Regions from separate parts of the Homo sapiens genome. Here region 1 is linked to region 2. Evidence: promoter capture Hi-C in human tissues and cell types (Jung and others, 2019). All regions are on one chromosome and are shown on one strand. The core of a region is centred on a gene start or on the middle of the fragment in contact, and the rest is flanking DNA. Distances in the headings are between cores, read along the strand shown.

Region 1 (3,426 bases), core at 847-3,346, 500 kb before region 2:
AGCCAATGAGAGAGGCCTCAGAAGAAATAACCTTTTTGCACTCTGATCTTGGACTTTTAGCCTCCATAATTGTGTGAAAATAAATTTTTGTTTAGCCACCCAGTCTCTGCACTTCTTATGGGAGCCCTCGCAAACTAATATAAGGTTTCAAATGAGAAGGAATGGGAGAGTCTAGGAAAACTGATATCTCTGGAGAGGTTTACATTTTTCCTGTTTGTTGGGGGAGGTAGGAAATGAAGGATAGGGTAGTTGAGAGTGAAATTCTCACATTTCAGTCAACAATGCCATGATATGGCTATGATCTGTCACTCTCCTTATTCAGGAGATGCCTGGGCATAAAAAGGAAAAAAGATCAATATGTTTTGAAACCAAAATATGTCCAGTAATACAACTCATTTTAAGCACAATGAAAAAATTGCAGAGCAATAGTATAGGATGACTCCATTTGTATGTAAATTTAGATTCCTGTTAGTGCCTATGTTAGACACTGAAAAAGTGTTCCCAATTAAGCATGGAGGGGTGGTAAAGTTCTTACTTAGTAAAGTAAGAAAATCTTAATCTTGCGAATAGAGTCAAACATGTATGATATAGTTTGGATATTTGTCCGTGCCCAAATCTCATGTTGAATTGTAATCTCCAGTGCTGGAGGTGGGGCCTGGTGGGAAGGAAGTGCTTGGGTCATGGGAGTGGATCCCTCATGGCTTGGTGCTGTCTTGGAGATAGAGAGTGAGTTCTCTGGAGACCTGGTTGTTGTAAAGTGTGGCATCTCCCCCTCCACTCTCTCTCTCTCTCTTGCACCTGCTTTCCCAATGTGATGTGCCTGCTCTCCCTCCTGCACCTTCTGCCATGATTGTAAGCTTTCTGTGGCCTCCCTAGAAGCTGAACAGATGCCAGCACCATGCTTCCTGTAAAGCCTGCAGAACCATGAGCCAATTAAACCCCTTTTTAAGATAAATTACCCAGTCTCAGGTATTTCTCTCTTTCTTTCTTTTTTCTTTCTTTTTTATTTTTTGAGACACAGTCTGGCTTTGTTGCCCAGGCTGGAGGGCAGTGGCATGATCTTGGCTCACTGCAACCTCTGCCTCCTGGGCTCAAGTGTTATAAAAGCTTATTTAACAATTTACCTCTGGCTGATATTGTTTGTTTTGTTTGTTTGTTTTTTTAATTTTGAGACAGGGTCTTGCTTTGTTGCCCAGACTGGTCTTGAACTCCTGGGATCAAGTGATCCTCCCTTCTCAGGTGGGATTACAGGCATGCACCACTGTGTCCAACTTGACGTAATTCTTTTTTTTTTTTCTTTCCTGAGACAGGGTTTTGCTCTTGTTGCTCAGGCTGGAGTGCAATGGCATGATCTGGGCTCACTGCAACCTCCGCCTCCCAGGTTCAAGTGATTCTCCTGCCTCAGCCTCCCTAGTAGCTGGGATTACAGGGATGTGCCACCACGCTCGGCTAATTTTGTATTTTTAGTAGAGACAGGGTTTCTCCATGTTGGTCAGGCTGGCCTCAAACTCCCGACCTCAGGTGATCTGCCCGCCTCGGCCTCCCAAAGTGCTGGGATTACAGGCATGAGCCACCGCACCCGGCCCATAATTCTTTTAAATATGTATTTTGCTGGGTGCGGTGGCTCACGCCTGTAATCCCCGCACTTTGGGAGGCTGAGGTGGGAAGATCACGTGAGTCCAGGAGTTTGAGACCAGCCTGGGCAACTTGGTGAAACCCGTCTCTACTAAACATACAAAAATTAGCCAGGCGTGATGGTGCCTGCCTGTGGCCCCAGCTACTCAGGAGGCTGAGGTGGGAAGATTACCTGAGCCCAGGAGGTCGAGGCTGCAGTGGGCTGTGACTGTGCCACTGTACTCCAGCCTGGGTGACGGAGTGAGACCCTGTCTCAAATGAATAAATAAATAAAATTAAAAATAAATAAATAAATAAATGAATAAGTGTTTCAGCATTGGAAATAAATCTGGTGGTAAGCTAAGTGTACATTGATTTCTGCAACTGAGTTCTTACTATGGGTTAGGCAATATTATAGGCAGGATAACATGTGGAGAATAAGACAGACAAGGCCTCTAATTTACAGTCTATATTCTAGGGGTGCTATTGGTAATGAAGTATATAATAGTCAGTGAATATACAGTGTAATCTGTTATGACATTATTCCCAGAATCCCTGTCTAGGAATCATTGAAAAGGAATTACATTTTCTAGACATGGGCATTAGCAGAATGCTGGACTTAACAATATTTTCTCATGTGACAATAGGCAAGTTTCTTCCTCTCTATCTCAAAATTTCTTTTAGAGAATAATCTATTTTCCATTCATCATAATTTTAAAATGGACTATCATTAGGGCCTTTAATTCTTTAATTTGTAGGCTGGCAATGGAGACTGGTTAGGACCTATATTAAATGATAGTCCACAGGCCACATGATGCTTGTTTATCAATTGGTAGATTTTATTTTACCTTTAATAATCACCATCAGGAGGTTTCCTTTTTTTTTTTTTTTTTTGAGATGGAGTCTCGCTCTGTTGCCTAGGCTGGAGTGCAGTAGCACGATATTGGCTGACTGCAACCTCCACCTCCTGGGTTCAAGCGATTCTGCATCAGCCTCACGAATAGCTGGGATTACAGGCGCATGCCACCACGCCCGGCTAATTTTTGTATTTTTAGTAAAGTTGGGGTTTCATCATGTTGACCAGGCTGGTCTCGAACTCCTGACCTCAAGTGATCTGACCTGCCTCCGCTGTTTAAAGTGCTGGGATTACAGGAGTGAGCCACCATGCCGGGCAGGAGGTTTCCTTTTTAAAAAACATTTTAAATGGCTACAGGCATGTGCCGCCATGCTTGTCTAGTTAAAAAAACAAACAAACAAAAAACATTTGGTCCAGCGCAGTGGCTCACGCCTGTAATCCCAGCACTTTGGGGGGCCGAGGTGGGCAGATCACGAGGTCAGGAGATTGAGACCATTCTGGCTAACACGGTGAAACCCCGTCTCTACTAAAAATACAAAAAAGAAAAAAAAAAGTTGGGCATAGTGGCAGGTGCCCGTAGTCCCAGCTACTTGGGAGGCTGAGGCAGGAGAATGGTGTGAACCCAGGAGGTGGATCTTGCAGTGAGCCAAGGTGGCGCCCCTGCACTCCAGCCCAGGCGACAGAGCAAGACTCCATCTCAAAAAAAAAAAAAAAAATTTTTTTTTAGAGATGATGTCTGCTATGTTGCCCAGCCTGCCAGACTGGTCTTGAACTCCTGGGCTCAAGTGACCCTCCTGCCTCAGACTCCAGAAGTGTTGGGATTACAGTCACGAACCACTGTGCCTGGCCAGGAGATTTCTTAAAAGAATATCCATGTCCAGTGGAAAGGGATAGGCAGCTAAGTCTTGAATAGTTAAAGTCTTAGTGTGCATACATTTTTTGATAAAAAATAATTG
Region 2 (3,211 bases), core at 206-2,705:
TGCAACAAGTGACCCTCTCAAGCGGCTCTTGAAACCACGCAGCCCGCAACTCGGGGATCCACCTCGCGTGCGCCCGAGGAGCACAGCAGGCTGGACACACCAACCTTTTCCCCAACCGTGACCCAAACAGTGGCTTGGATTCGATCCTTTCCACCCCCAAGCCTTGAGGAAAATCCACTTGAGACTTTTTTCCATCTCCAGATTTCCGACGGTCGATATCCTCCTGCATCCAGCCCATTTCCTAGTTTCCTGAAGGGTAGGGAGGACGTCTGTGAGTTGGATGTCTGAGAGCGTGCGTGTGCTAGGGATTTTAAACGTCTCCCCTCTCTTCCACTTCTTCGATATGTGCTCTGAGCTTTAGGTGTCGCCTCACAAATGGGATCAATAATCCTTGTTTTACCAACTTTGTCATGAAACCCTAGAAAATCATATATATTAAAAGGGCTTTAGAAATTGTCAGGTGCCCGACAGGTTGCAGCCGCGGGTTACCTCGGAGGCCAAGGCAGCCACCTCTGCAAGGGAGTTCTGCGTCCAAGCATGGCTTGTCCGTCCCGCCTGGCCCCCATCAACAAGGCCGGGACCAGCGGCCGGTGGAACGAGCGAGAGCAGCCCTAGTCCCACAGGTGAGCCGCCCCCACAAGCAGCCAAGCCGCGAGCCGTCCCGGCGCCGTCACCGCCCGCACTCACTTCTCCACTCCGGGAGGGAGATGGGAGGCGTGGGAGAACGCGGAGAGGCGCGGCGAGGCTGGGAGCGGGAGACGGCGCCGGGAGGCGGGAAGCGGACCAGAGAATGGGAGAAGCCCGGCAGGTGGACAGGAGGAAACAAAACCCAAACGCCCCACCCTCGAAGTCGTCAGGAGCTGAGCGAAGGAAGGAGCGAGGTAGGAAAGCGTGGCGCCCCAAATATGCCGCGGGAGCGGCGCGGGAGGCGCAGAACCCCGGAGCTTGCAGCCTAGCGCGCGGGGTCCCAGCGGAGCGCGAGGACGCGAGCGGAGCCCTCCCGGTTACCTGTGCTGCTTCCGCCCTGGCTGCCCCTGTCCCGAGGGAAGATGCCCGAGCACTTCTCCCACTCCACCTGGCCGGCGAAGCACAGCTCGGTGACGATGTGCAGAGCCTTCTGGCACAGACTGTTCACTCCGTCCTCCTTGTGGAAACTCATCGTTTGGCTTTTCTTTCGTTTTCTCTTTTTTTCCCAGTTAGCCGTCTTTTCCTCTTCCCGTACCTCTAACCCCTCTGGCGCCCTAAGCCATAGTCCGCCCGCGGTGACTTTGGCTGGAGATTGCGCCGCTGAGAGCCGGCAACTCTTAGGAGCCCCACGTTGGCCCCATGGCGGGAGCGGAGGGCGTAGGGGAAGGAGAGGCGCGCGAGGAGGCTGCGGCTGCCGCGAGGTTTGCGCCAACTCTCCCGCCGCGCGAGCGAGCCGAGGCGCGCTGGAACTAGAGACCCGGCATGGAGTGCTGAGGGGAGGGGGGAGCCGTAAAAAAGCCAAAGCAAGCCCTCGACTCGCAAGCACGCCCCCCTCCTCTCCCCAGCGCACTGGTGTTTCTGGCGGGTGCCTGGCGGCGACGCGTCCAATCGCAGCCCGGCGCGGGCGCTAGGTGACAGGCGGCGGAGCGCGCAGACCCGGCTCCCCGCGTCCTCTGAAGAAGGGACTCGCGAGGGAGGGAGGGAGGGAGGGCGGGCGGCCCGGCGCCCCTGCCGAGGCCGGGGATGCTCATCGTTGCCCAGAGTTGGCCCGAGGAGCCCTCTCCGTTTTCCCAATACTTTTCCCTGCATCAGTGCAGCCATCCCCGCCGCCTTTGTCTCTCCAACTTTTCCACGGATGTATTCTACTTTCTGTGCTATCTGCTTCTGCCCTTCTGGAAAAGTCATCCCAATCGAAGAAAAACTGAAAAAGTTAATTAGAAAAAAGAATGCGTGAATAAGCAAACCCTCTTAGGTAGATCACAAAATAAAATGTTATTTGTACTAATAATCAGATAAGATTCTGTCGATTAATCCGTAATTGGCGATTGAGAATGCACAACTTGACTCCCTCCATCTCCTTTCTTAGCGACTTAAAACAAGACATGGGTGTTAAAGGGAACAGGATTAAGTTCAAATCTGTCACACATCTCAGCCTAACCTTGAAGTTGTTTTCAGGTCTTGGCGATCCTCCTACTTCAGCCTCCCTAGTAGCTAGGACTCCAGGGACTCCAGGCGCTATTTTTTTTTTTTAAACTTATTGTAAAGACAAGGATCTCACTATGGTGCCCTGGCTGGTCTCGAACTCCTGGGCTCAATCAATCCTACCGCCTTAGCTTCCCAAAATGCTGGCACTAGCCACCACGGCCGGCCTGCTTTCGGGTCTTTGCCTGAGTCTGTAAAATGGGAGATTTGGACTCGGATGTCTTAAGCTCACCTGTTTTTATAATTCTTTAATGCAAATGGGTGCAAATCAGTAGAACTAAAGCGACAAAATAATAAACATGGGCTTCAGGATATAATATGTTTATATGGTTTTTAAACTGTTTTCGGGCAGAGTTTGATCCCATATCATAACCTGAGGATTGATTTAACCCTCTTGTGATGAGGGATTCTTTATTTTTGAAGTGGGATACATTGAACTTGTTAGCGTGTCTATGCTAGTAGAATAAGTAGTCTTTTTTAAAAACAGCTAATCAGTTCATGGTAAATTATTTGCTTTGCACAGGACTATGGTAAACCTAGTATAAATATTAGGCATAGCACTCCAGTAGGGAAGCATTCATTAGTTGAATCATTTTGACCTGATCCATAGGACGATTGGTTTAACTAGGACTATTTTTACCACGAATTAAGACAAACTAAAATCTGCAGGCTTCATTTGGTTTTTGTCTTTATGCACACTGACTTGGGTGGTTTTTAAGTCAAATTGTCTAAAGAAATAATTTCACTGTCAATCAAAAAATATTAAACATCTACTGTATGCACAAAACTAAATAACACACTTTAATAAGGCCCTTTCCAATTGCCTTTTGCCCCCCATTCTGCTACAGTCTACACAGACAGACCGGTAGAAAACAGCCTGCAATGCAATGCTGTACTTTCATATTTACCATATGAACTAATTGCTGTGTAGGAGGACCAAATGAGTAATTATCTTTATACTACTTACAGATTCTAATTGCTTAAGTGGAGTAATGCAGAAGGTCTCCCTAATGACCCTCTTGTGTTTGATTTCAGTGTTAAA

The links. Contacts are between HindIII fragments. The study calls those that stand out against the background at their distance.
Region 1: a contact is called between a fragment that was not itself captured here and the fragment with the promoter of SYT10 in region 2, in 1 of the 25 tissues and cell types used here (H1 embryonic stem cells).

Annotation. Positions count from the first base shown.
Region 1 is chr12:32,939,938-32,943,363 of GRCh38, forward strand. No RefSeq gene overlaps it. Among named protein-coding and RNA genes, the nearest start is that of PKP2, 45 kb to the left of the region's middle. The HindIII fragment of the contact is 6,625 bases long and covers 1-3,426 here.
Region 2 is chr12:33,438,364-33,441,574 of GRCh38, forward strand. It overlaps SYT10 (synaptotagmin 10), which reads right to left and starts at 1,456. Exons shown (of 7, transcript NM_198992.4): 1 at 1,009-1,456. The coding sequence starts at 1,159. RefSeq lists an enhancer at 367-1,183. The HindIII fragment of the contact is 9,708 bases long and covers 1-3,211 here.